3 separate regions of the Homo sapiens genome follow, and all the other regions are linked to region 3. Evidence: promoter capture Hi-C in 16 types of primary human blood cells and fetal thymus (Javierre and others, 2016). All regions are on one chromosome and are shown on one strand. Each heading gives the region's core, a stretch centred on a gene start or on the middle of the fragment in contact. The rest is flanking DNA. Distances are from core to core; before and after follow the strand shown.

Region 1 (4,495 bases), core at 898-3,397, 900 kb after region 3:
TCAGCTTCCAGGGTCAGTGGAACTTGATGTAAAAGCAGCTGGGGTTGTTACCGGTGTTGGGTATCCGAGTTACTGGCGACAAATTCATACAGGTCTGCAGCAACTTCAATTCTTGCCTCCTCAGAAGAAAGAATTTGACTGACGGGCAGAAGGCAGAAGGAGAGACTGAGGCAAGTTTTAGAGCAGGAGTGAAAGTTTATTAAAAAGCTCTAGAGCAAAGGCCAGGAGCAGTGGCTCACGCCTGTAATCCCAGCACTTTGGGAGGCCAAGGTGGGTAGATCGCCTGAGGTCAGGGGTTCGAGACCAGCCTGGCCAACATGGTGAAACCCTGTCTCTACTAAAAATACAAAAATTAGCTGGGCATGGTTGTGGGTGCCTGTAATTCCAGCTACTCAGGAGGCTGAAGCAGGAGAATCGCTTGAACCCGGGAGGCAGAGGTTGCAGTGAGCTGAGATCGTGCCACTGCACTCCAGCCTGGGTGACAGAGGGAGACTCTGGCTCAAAAAAAAAAAAGCTCTAAAGCAGAAACAAAAAGAAGGAAAGTACACTTGGAAGAGGGCCAAGTGGGCAATCTGAAAGACAAGTGTGTGGTTTGACCTTTTGACTTGGGGTTTTATACATTCGCATGCTTCTGGCGTCTTGTGTCCCTTCTCCACTGATTCCTCCCTTGGGGTGGGCTGTCCACAGGCACAGTGGCCTGCTAGCACTTGGGAGGGGAGCATGTACAGTGTGTTTACTGGAGTTGTCTGCATGCTCACTTGAAGCATTCTTCCCTTACCAGTGGAATGTCTCTAGGAGAACATATACCAGTTAAACTCTGCCATTTTGCCTCAGTTCACATGCATGAGCCCACTCGTACAACTCCCGAGATCTTATCGGGAAGCTGCTGATTACCAGCTTCAGGCGTTTCTACATATTGGGAAACTGCCTTTCTCTGGAACCAGCTGCAACCAGTTATTATTTTAGCGAGACAGTGTGACAACTGCCTGATCATCATCTGATGGTCACCTGATATTCCTGGTGGGGTCGATGGGGGAGCTCTCATCTGCCGGGCTCATGCCTGACTAGCTACCTACTGTAACGGGGTCAAAGCCATATGATTATGGAGCAGGCCAGGCAGGATATGTGGGAGAGCTTTCCTGTGTGGTCTCTGCAGCGGTGAGGTGAGCTGATGGAACGTACAGCAACATAGGTACTTGTAGTGGCTATTTTTTTAATTGCTCAGCCTCCATTTCCCTTTTATTGGATACAGCACCCCAATTTCTGATTTGTGGACTTAACCCTCTCTCCTTGTGTGGACTCTTGGTAGGACAGTAAATCAAGGGGCTTTTCCTCATAGCCAAGAGATGGGCACGTGACCTAGGCTGGAGCACTCAGACTGTCTCCTGAGACAGGATCTTGCATCATCAGAAATGAACACTTGGATGACACTTGTCTCCTCAGCAACTCTCAGACAAAATAGTTGGCCAGTTTCTGTTGGTTCCAGTTCTATTTCAAGACTGGCTCTCCAGCCTGTCTCCTCTGTGAGCTACCTGATAACCTTTCAACAAGTTATCCTTTTGTTTGATTAGCTGAAGTTGGTTTCTGTTGCTTGCAACCAAGGAACCATGATAAATTATCATCTGGTTCATAATTTCCATTTCATGAACCTCAGATGGTGAGCAATACTACAAAGACTTGGATAGCAGCTGCTAAAAGAGGAGGTGGCTGGAAGCATCTGAAATGTAGTCCAGAATAGTCCTGGGAGGCTAAACAGGTAAGCACTAATTGGTGAGGATATGGGAAATAGCTGGAAGAATTAAGTGCACCAACTTGCTGAAATTTGCTCTTACCAGTAGGAATGAGCCAGGGATATATAAGCAAGGAATGTAAGAGGTGAAGCATAGAAAATTCATATTCCATGGAAATTTAGGACTGAAGATTGTGCAATGATCCTCAGATTACCCAAGGCACAGATGTCAGAGGTGATGTCACAATACAAGAAAGCAAGTGAGAAAAATGCCCCTTTCTAAAAGGGCTCTCTGACCTCTGCTGCAGCCGGATTCTGAGAAAAATAGGCACCGGGGAGGCCCCTTCCTCTGCTGAAGTCTTCTGTTCTCAACAATGTGAGGCTGGGCTTGGTCAAGATGAGTTGGGATGACTGCAGAGGTGGTGGGTACTTGGTAGTGCTGGAGATGGGAGTCTGAAGTGTGGTGAGAAGTCTGGACATGGCTCGAGGACATGGCTGCCCCTCAATAGGAAGCTGAGGCAGTGGATGACAATGCTAAGCTCTTGACATGTTCCTCCATGAGCAGCTGGTTGGGGAAGAGCTTGTGAGTCACACCTCTTCTGCAGAGGATATGTGTTGGCTGTGTCCATCTTCACCTGAGCAGTCCTGGATCATGCTGGAGGCTTGCTCTGATAGACCGAGGCTTGCTCCACAGCCTCCCCATGTTCTGAATCCATAGTGCTTTGATCTAAAGGCAGAACCCTGCCCTTCCTTTCCCCCAACCTGCCCTCAGAGCTCCAGAAGACTGAGGAGCCCTCCACTGTGGCTGCAGCCTGGTGGCTGGGGTCAGGAAAAATGCGGCTGGCATTTGGCCCATCCTATCCTCTGCAGTCAGCAGGTGGAGGGGAGCCGAGGGTTATGTAGCAGGGGCCAGGATGAGGCATACTACAGGGATCTTAGTTGTAAGCAACAGAAACTAATTATAGTAATTTAGAATGGAAAACAAGTACACCAAAAAGACATTGGGTACCTCACAGAATTGCTAGAAGGACTGGAAAAACAAGATCTGGAGGAGACACAAACAGAAACAAAGACCCAGCCCACTGCAGGAAGGGTTCAGTGCAGACATCATTGCTTGTATGCTGGACAGCAGACATCACAGCCACCCTGCTAATGCTTGCAGCACTGGAAGTGGGATGTTGCTGTAATCCTTTTATAATCTGACAGGATCCCCTTGCTTGTTTGTTTCACTGACTTCCATTTCTGACTTTGGTGCAGTGCTTCTGATTGGCTGGGAAAAAAGAAGGAAAGATGTCCAGTAGAACTCCCCTCTACCTTCATTTAATCTTATTCTTTAACTTACCTTCTTTTATCATCAGAATTCTCCCCCCCCCTTTTTTTTTTAAAGAGACAGGGTCATGCTCTGCCACCCAAGCTAGAGTGCAGTGGTGCAATCATAGCTCACTGCAGCCTTGCACTCCCGGACTCACATGATCCTCCTGCCTCAGCCTCCCCAGAGGCTAGAAGTATAGGCAAGTCATTATACCCCGCTAATTTTTTGTAGAGATGAGCATCTTATTACACTGCTGAGGCTGGTCTGGAACTCCTGGCCTCAAGTGATCCTCCCCACTTGGCCTCCCAAAGCACTGGGATTACAGGTGTAAGCCACTGCACCTGGCCTTTACATATTTTATTTATTTTATTTTATATATACGTTTTGAGATAGGTCTTGCTCTGTCACCTAGGCTGTAGCGCAATTGTGCAATCGCAACCCACAGCAGCCTCAACCTTCTGGGCTTAAGCAATCTCCCACCTTAGCCTCTGGAGTAGCTTGGACTACAGGCATGGGCTACTACACACAATCCTCCCACCTCAGTCTCTGGAGTAGCTGGGACTACAGGCATGGGCCACTACACCCCGTTAATTTTTGTATTTTTTGTAGAGATAAGTCTCCCTATATTGCGTAGGCTGGTCTCTAACTCCTGGGCTCAAGCGATCCTCCATTTAAGACTCCCGAAGTACTGGGATTACAGGCATAAACCACCACACCCAGCCTACCATATGTATTTTTAAAAGAAGAACCCTTAGCTGGGCACAGTGGCTCATGCCTGTAATCCCAGAACTTTGGGAGGTTGAGGTGGGAGAACTGATTGAGCCCAGGAGTTCAAGACCAGCCTGGTGAACATGGTGAAACCCTGTCTCAACAAAAAATTAGCCAGGTGTGGTGGTGCACACCTATGGTCCCAGCTACTCAAGAGGCTGAAGTGGGAGGATCGTTTGAGTGCAGGAGGTGGAGGCTGCATAAGCCATGATGGTGCCACTGCACTTCAGCCTGGGTGACAGAGCAAGACCATGTCTCAAAAATAATAATAATAGGCCAGCATGGTAGCTCACACCTGTAATCCCAGCACTATGGGAGGCCAAGGTGGGCAAATCACTTGAGGTCAGGAGTTCAAGACTAGCCTGGCCAACATGGTGAAACCCCAATACAAAAATTAGCCAGGTGTGGTGGTATGCACCTGTAACCCCAGCTACTCGGGAGGCTGAGGCAGGAGAATCATTTGAACTCGGGAGGCAGAGGTTGCAGTGAGCTGAGATCCTGCCATTGCACACAAGCCTGGGCAACAGAGCGAGACTCCGTCTCAAAAATATATATATACACATATATATGTGTGTGTCTCGGTATGTGTATGTGTGTGTGTGTGTATATATATATATATAAAGAACTCTTAGCTACCATCCTGTAGCAGGTGCGGTGGTGCCTTGCCCAGATCCCCATACCCAGCT
Region 2 (3,969 bases), core at 1,240-3,739, 920 kb after region 3:
GATCAAGGAGCAGCCAGCAGCAAGCAAGGGCACAGGCAGCAGCAGAGAGGAGCAAAGATGCCCCATGGGTAACACTCTGATTTCTTGCATGTCCCCTAGTGCCAGCCCCAAACAGGACAGGCATAGGAAGTCGGTGGAGCCCTACTGTGAGTTTCAGATGTATGAGCAAGCGGCAGCGAGTGAAGGTGTAGGTGGTAGTGGAAAGAAACAAAGGCACCCCTTGGGTAATGCATTGGCGTCTTGCATGTTCCCCAAAACCAGTCACAACCAGAGCTGGTGCAGGAGGTCAGTGGAACTCTACCTCAGATCTGAGATCTACGAGCAGGCTGTAGTGAGCAAACATGCAGATGGCAGAGGAGAGGGGCAGAAGTGCCCCAAGAGTAATATGCTGATCATTTATGTGTCTTGAAATGCCAGCCATGAGCGGTGCTGGTACAAGAGGTTGGCGGAGCTCTACTGGGGGTCTGAGATTTATGAGGAACAGGAGGCAATGATCAAAGGTACAGATGGCAGTGGATAGGACTGGAAGAACCCTCTGGGGAACATGCTGACTACTTGTATGTCCCTCAATCCCAGCCCCAAGTAGGGCTGGCACAGGAGATTTGTGGAGCCCTATTGTGGGTCTGAGATCTATAAGCATGCAGCAGTGAGTAAAGGTGCAGGCCACGGTGGAGAGAAGTGCAGGTGCCACATGGGTAACATGATGACCTCTTGCGTGTCCCATGCTGCCAGCCCCCAATAGAGCTGGTGCAGGAGGTCAGTGGAGCCCTATTATGAGTTTGAGATCTATGAGCATGCAGCATTGAACAAAGGCACAGGCAGTGGTGGAGAGGAGTGGAGGTGCCCCATTGGTAACATGCTGAACTCTTGCATCTTCCCCAATGCCAGCCCTGTGTGGGGCTGCTGCACAGGGCTGGTGGAGCCCGATTGTAGGGCTGAGATCTATGAGCAGGTGGCAGCAAGCAAAAATGCAGGCAGTGGCAGAGAAGAGTGGAAGCTGGTCTGGCACAGGAGATCAGTGGAGCCCTACCCACAGGTCTGAGATCTGCAAGCAGGCAGCAGTGAGCAAAGGAACATATGGCAGTAGAGAAGAGCAGAAGTGCACCATGGGGACCATGCCGACCTATTGTGTGTCACCCAATGCTAGCACCAAACTGGGCTGGATCAGGGGGACAGCGGGGTCCTACTTCAGGTCTGAGATCTGTGAGCAGGCAGCAGCAAGCAAAGGTTGACATGGTGGTGAAGAGGAGCAGAACCACTCCATGGAAAGCATGCTGACTTGTGTGTCCCCCAATGCCAGCTCCAAGCTGGTCTGCCAAAGGACATCAGTCTGAGCCCTACAATTTATCATTCTATGAGACTTTTTCGAAGCTTTCTTCATATCTTCTTTGCCTTTTCTTAATGAGAACTCAAATACTCCAACTTCTGAGTACCCATCCCATTCTCCTTATCTATCTAGATGGTACCTAAATGAAGGAGCCAGGTAAGAGTCTGATTGTTCCCTTTCTCTTATGTGTTAAGGTAGCTGATACTTGGGAAAATTTAGACCCAATGTTTAGGGATTTCTTGCTTAAATTCAGAATAGAGGTTGGCGTATGGAGTTTTTAATAAGTTGTTTTAAGTCACCTCGATAGAAATGGCTTTATTCCTCCAACTATAATTTGAACACTGAAGGGAAGAAAATTGGAGAAGTGCTTAAAATGATTATGAATGGTGTAAAATGTTACTGCCAGGGCTGCAGAATAGTTGATGGTTTTTTAAACCCAAAGCTTACCCACAGTGTTTTGATTGCTTTAAGATTTCCTCTTTAACCCAAATATATCTTCAGATCTACTCTGGTGACTTACTGGACTTCATTTTCCTCCTTGTTCTAAAAGTGGAGGGGTGGTTCATAGTAAAAAAATTTCAAGAGCTGGAACATAAATTCAGAGTTACATTTGTGATGTAAAGGTTTGGGAGTTTAAAATGCCAGATGCTGCCTGTTCAAGTGTTTGTTTCCATAGCTCCCTCCTCATGTCAACAGAATTATGTTCAAAGATGAGAGTGTTAGAGTTCAAACTCTAATCTCTGATAGGGATGGAAAGGGGGGAGATGAAAGAAAATTTTTAATATTTTACCATCAGAAAAAGAACGAATTTAAGTAGAAATGGTTTTGAATAATATGGTTCTTGAATAAAAACTAAGTTCTTTGAAATAGAAAACATTGTATCATAAAGATAGTTAAATCTGGTTGTCTCATTTGTTTTAATAAATGCCAGATATTTCATTAGTATAGAGAAAATGTCTTATAGCTCTTCTGTTTAAACTTTGATTGGGCTCTTAATTTCTTTAAAAGTTAGAAAACTTAGGCCTAGCATGGTGGCTTACGCCTGTAATCACTGCACTTTGGGAGGCCAAAGCAGGTGGATCAGCTGAGGTCAGGAGTTTGAGACCAGCCTGGCCAACATGAGGAAACCCCATCACTAGTAAAAATACAAAAAATTATCTGGTCATGGTGGTGCATGCCTGTAATCTCAGCTACTCAGGAGACTGAGGCAGGAGAATCACTTGAACCTGGGAGGTGGAGGTTGTAGTGAGCCGAGATCGCGCCACTGCACTCCAAACTGGGCAACAAGAGCAAAACTCCGTCTCAAAAAAAAAAAAAAAAAAGAAGAAGAAGAATTAAAGCTCATGATGTATGTGCCTTTATAACTGGAAAGTACCATATTCAATTTTCAGAATATTCAATAATAGTGAAAGAACGAATAGATTGTGTTAATAGATTGTAACTTTATGCACAAAGTATGGAAGTACTTGTGAATATTTATGCTCTGTTTGGTGGTGTAAGGTAAACCTCAGTGACTTTACACACCAGTTGGTAGATGGGTAGTGCTGGATGAGATCCCAAAATAGGCTCTTCATGTCTTTTTTTAGTATGTACAACACATTTTAATGTACATCTTATTTGGCCCTTCCAAACACAAATAAGGCCTGTGTATATTCTCCCTGTATTGATGATGAAAAAACAAAGACTTTGAGATCTGAAATGACTATGTAAGACAGCTACTGAACAGAACTAAGGTTCTATAGTAAGTACCCTGAAACTGACATGGAGATGGTAGCGATGCCTAATTCAGTTCCTAAACTTTAAAACTGTGGAATACATTGTATGTTTTACCTATAAAGTAAACTTATCTCTTAGAACTTACTCCACCTTGATTAGTTCAATTAAAAGCTTATTTTATACAACTCAGAGGCAACATTTACCTGTCCATTTTTTTTTCTAAAGGGAAAGGGGTCTTAACTGTGTTGCCCATACTGGCCTCAGTCTTCTGGCCAGGGCTCAAGTGATCCTCCTGCCTCAGCCTCCTGAGTAGCTGGAATTACTGATATATTCCATCTTGCCTGGCTCCATCTTATGTCTATACATTAATTTCAACAGATACGGATAAAAGTAGAGGTAATAAAATTACCCAAATTTACCAATCAAGCAGGTTAATAATTTTTAAAGAGTTTTCTCTTGTCACTGTAAATTGAAGCTGAGAATTTCCTGGACAAGAGAAGCTGGAGACAGGAGAGGTAAGGTATCATGCCTTAAGCATAGAACAATAATAAGGAGTGTTAAATCAGAAAAGTTAAAAAAATAGTTTGTGAGCACAGAATTTAACATTTTATGTTTATTTGCATGACACTTAAATTTTCATTTCAATTTGCCTCTTGAAATTTATTTTTCTGGCATTCAATAAAGTGATAAGCGAAACCTCAATTTCAGCATTTGCCTACAATTCCTAAGTTTCCATAGAAACTGAGGCAGGACATTAACAATTTGCTGTTAATATCTTTAGTTTGGACAATTTTATATCAGTTTACTTGGAAACTGAGAAATTCCTACTTAGATGTAAAACATTTTAGTTTTACTACAATGAAGAATGGAATTATTTTGGTTACTTAGAAAAAAATCAGACGTAAATAGTGTACTTTGTTCTTCTG
Region 3 (4,095 bases), core at 1,441-3,940:
TGACCCAGCTTTCAAGTTACCCCAGTCCAGGCAGGCTGAGATTCCTGAGAATCTTCTCAGAAGTGGATCCTCTAGCCCCAGCTGTTCCAGCTATCAGCCATTTCAGTCTCCCGAGCTGAGGCTCCAGATACAAGGAGCAAAGAAGAATTATCTTGGTGTGCTCTGTCCAAGCTCCTGACCACAGAATTTGTGATCAGAAAAAAATGGTTGTGTTAAGCTGCTAAATTTGGGGGTAATTTGTGACACAGTGATAGTAACTGGAACACTTATGCCACACCCCTGCTTAAAATGTTCCAGTGATTCTGCATCACCACCACCGAGATGAAGTCCAAATTCCTTTGCCATTCAGTACTAGATGCCTGTCCACCCCACCAGATCCATCTCCTGTCTCTGCCCACACAAGCCCTAGTGCCAGCCACACTGCAATTCCTGGAATCATCCCTACTTCCCTGGGCTCCCATGCCTTTGTATATTTTGTTGCTCTGCCTGGATGTCTTTCTGACATCCAAGATATTCAGCAAATCATCTGGAAAACTGGGGGATGCAAATCCACTGACGTCCCTGAAATCCTTTTTCTCCAGGAGGAATGATTGACTGGCCCTAAGACAGTTCAAGTGCTCTGCAAAAGAATATTCACAGAATGTGGGTTATTTTCTAGGTCTCTGAATAAAATACTGGTTATATAGAATTGATTCTGGAGCCAGATTGCCTGCATTCAGCTGCCAGCTCTACCACTGATTAGTGGGGGACTTTGTGCAGCCTGTTTAACTTCTCTGTGCTTCAATTGCCCCATCTGTAAAATGGGGTAATAAATAATCCTTACTTTGTAGAGTTATGGTAAGGATTAAAAGAGTTAAAATGTGTAAAGGGTTTTTAGAATGATGCCTGGCAGAGAGTGCTTGGGTAAATAAGTGTTTGTTGAAAATAAAACAAATCTGCAAATAGTTAACTGTAGTCATTGCTCAAGTCCCTTTGAGTATCGCCTTCTTTGGGACACCTCCCCGAGGCCTCCCCCACGCTAGCTGGCTTCACAGATAGGTCCATGTTGTCGCAGCACCTCCAGCACATCACAGCTGCAACATTCCTCACTGTTTCTGTAAGTCTATCTTTGTAGTTGTCAGTATCTCTCAGCTCATTTCTTAGATTCTTGAAGGCAGAGGCTGGATTTTACTCATTTCTCTCTCCCTGGAATCTAAGTCTTAGTAGGCCTTCAATAATTGTGTATTAAATGGAAGCTTGCTATGATTTTAACCAACACAGTAACTCCAGGCCAGAAAAGGCTAAGCGAGTTCTTCTAAGCCATACAGGTTTTAGTGGCTGAACAAAGACTAAAATTTTTAACCCTGTTCTTCTGACTGCCAAACCTAAGCTAATGACTCGTGTGTGTGTGTATCTGTGTATGTGTACACACGCATGTGTGTGTCCACCAGTATCATCACTAACCCCTGGCCATTTGCTTTTAAAATTATTTTATTCAGAGACTTATACAATAAGTATAAGTATACAATAACCCATGTTCTTTTAGCCTCTTCTGAGACCCTGGGTTGTTTATAATAATAATCACTATTATTCCTGAAGGGAGGCTATTGCACCCTTCCAATTATTCAGACGATTTGCTGACTGTCTGGATAATTCCGAAGCCTTTAACCCCTCCCTAACGTTAGAGGCGGTAACTTTCATCCGTTTACTTTTTCCAGGTGCGGAGGCGAAGCAGCCTTATTCAGAAAATCGAATTCAAACAGGACCTCAAGCTGCCGGCTGTTGCTTCTACCAACTGCCCCATTATTAACGCCAGACGGCGCTGTGTCCTCACTGGCTCTTTAACCACCACGTCGGGCTCACAGAAGGCTCAGGTTTCCTCCAGTATAGTTCAGGGGATGGTGAACGCTTCCCAACAAGCCTGCAACAGGCGCATTTCTTTCTGCTTTTGGTGCGTGTGTGTAGGGAAGTGTCCCATCTTTTAACTAGTCTTGCGGAGACCTGGCCTGGTGTTTGCAAATCTGTTTCCTCTATTATCGATCCGATCTCTGGATTGCTTTTTCTCTGACACTTGAAACAAATTCACTCCTATATATTTTTTAAGTGATTTTTTTTTTTTTTTTTTTTTTTTACAAAATAGAGCTGGGGCGGGGGGGGGGGGGTCTCGCTACGTTGCCCAGGCTGGTTTCGAACTCCTGGGCACAAGTAATTCTCCCACCTTGGCCTCCCAAAGTGGGGAATACAGACGGGAGCCACTGCGCTCGCCCCAAACAAAATCATTTAAATCACAATGCACTGAAGGCCGACTAGGTGTCAGGCGCCGCGCGGTCCGTCCCTTGTCCCCATGTCCCTGGCCAAAGGCTTGCTCTAGATCAGGGGACTCAGCCTCGAGGCTTTCCCGACGGTGTCAGCCAAGCACACACTCCCAGTTCGCAGGGCTTCGTGGTCAAGGTTCCTAGTTCACCTGTCTGGGAGGGCGAGGTGTGTCCACCCCTTCCAGCACCTGGGCAAACAGCTCCCTTTGCGGTCCTCTTCCACTGCTTTCCCTCCGCCCTGATTTTCCATTCCTTGTGAGCGGTGGTTTTGGTTGGGGGGAGGGGGCGGGGAAGGGGCCTGGCGAGGAGGGGCGTCAGAGCGCTGTCACCGGGTGTCGCGCCGCCCTCCCCGCCCCTCCGCCGGGCGTGTGGGGACGCCGGAGGGCGGGAGTCTCCGCGAGCCGCGCGGCGCACGGAGCACGGCGGCCGCCTGAGCTCGGCGCGGAGCCCGGAGCCCGCAGCCGACAGTCTCCTGCTCCCGTACGCTGGGCGCCAGCTCCGGCCGTGCTGCCCGGCTGCCTGAGAGCGCGCCCGGCCATGGAGCCCTCGCACAAAGACGCCGAGACGGCGGCGGCGGCGGCGGCGGTGGCGGCGGCGGACCCCCGGGGGGCGTCCTCGTCCAGCGGGGTGGTGGTGCAGGTCCGCGAGAAGAAGGGCCCCCTGCGCGCCGCCATCCCCTACATGCCCTTCCCCGTGGCCGTCATCTGCCTCTTCCTCAACACTTTCGTGCCGGGACTGGGTAAGACACGGCTGCCGCGACCCTTGCGACCCCCACCCCGCCGCGGGAGGGCGTGGGGGGAGAGAAGGGCGCGGCCGGAGACCTCCTGGCGGGGCCGCGCGCTCCAAGTGCTGCGACCACGCGCCACCGCCCGCTCCTGGCGTCCCCGGGCAGGTGGCAGAAGCGCGTGGAGTGTGCACCCCAGAGGGGAGAGGCTGCGCTGGGGTCTCCGACCCGCAGGCGGGGCCCCAAAGAGCCGGAAACTTTGCGGCCAATGTTGGAGCCCGCAGCGGCGGCCGGAATGGCTCTGCCGGCTTCGGAGTAGGGCTCCCGTCCCGGCGCCCCGATTTCTGCTCCTTCTCTCCGTCGTGTGCATCCGTCCGCGAGCCCACTTCCCCGAGAGGAATGGGGTCGGATCAGAATGAGCTCTAGGGCCTCGGCGGCGAGGATCAAACTCCCGGGCGTCGAAGTCAGCTGAGCCGGGGAAAGAGGACGAGCCGGGCTAGATATACCTGCAGCCCCCTTTGGTTCGCGGAGTGCGGACCGCGTGGGGACGAGAACTCTAGCCAGAGTCTCCTCCGCCTCATTCAGGGGTACCTGCACTTCCGCCAGCACCCCGCAGGGCGCCAGGGGGATGGGGGATGATTTTATTAGTTTGGATGCATGTGGCCAGAGATGAACCCATAGCTCCCTCGGATCCCTTCTGTTCCTGAGAAGTAGAGAGTGCGCCGATGTAATTCTGTGCAGGACTCCGGCAGCCGGCAGGGGTTCTGGTGGCATCTATGTCCCACGTTTTAAAGCAGAGGCCCCTTACAGAGATGGTGCAGGAGGGTGAATGGAGGCAGGGAATGAGAAGTTTTCCTGACCCTCCCTCCCTTAACTCCACCCCCAGGTCTCTGCCTGCACGCCCCTCCCCTCCTCCAGCTTGGCACTGGCTGCTCCTGCGTGCTGGGAGGTGCCCCCCTCTCCCGTGCCCGCCCGAAGAACCAGGCGCCCCAGTGCCCTCTCCGGGAGAAAGCGTGCCCCTGTCGGCGAGCCTGTTGCCAACGTATGGTTCCAAGTTCCCAAGAGCAGAGGCCAGCT

What was found. Contacts are between HindIII fragments. The CHiCAGO score rates a contact against its expected background, and 5 or more counts as called.
Region 1: a contact is called between a fragment that was not itself captured here and the fragment with the promoter of STUM in region 3, in 3 of 17 cell types (M2 macrophages, M0 macrophages and endothelial precursors). The highest score is 7.0, in M2 macrophages.
Region 2: a fragment that was not itself captured here is called in contact with the fragment with the promoter of STUM in region 3 in 1 of 17 cell types (erythroblasts); the score reaches 5.6 in erythroblasts.

Annotation. Positions count from the first base shown.
Region 1 is chr1:227,449,315-227,453,809 of GRCh38, forward strand. No RefSeq gene overlaps it. Among named protein-coding and RNA genes, the nearest start is that of LINC01641, 58 kb to the left of the region's middle. The HindIII fragment of the contact is 5,874 bases long and covers 1-4,495 here.
Region 2 is chr1:227,465,737-227,469,705 of GRCh38, forward strand. No RefSeq gene overlaps it. Among named protein-coding and RNA genes, the nearest start is that of LINC01641, 74 kb to the left of the region's middle. The HindIII fragment of the contact is 1,445 bases long and covers 1,768-3,212 here.
Region 3 is chr1:226,546,074-226,550,168 of GRCh38, forward strand. It overlaps STUM (stum, mechanosensory transduction mediator homolog), which reads left to right and starts at 2,691. Exons shown (of 4, transcript NM_001003665.4): 1 at 2,691-3,033. The coding sequence starts at 2,832. RefSeq lists a silencer at 1,675-1,969. The HindIII fragment of the contact is 11,252 bases long and covers 1,234-4,095 here.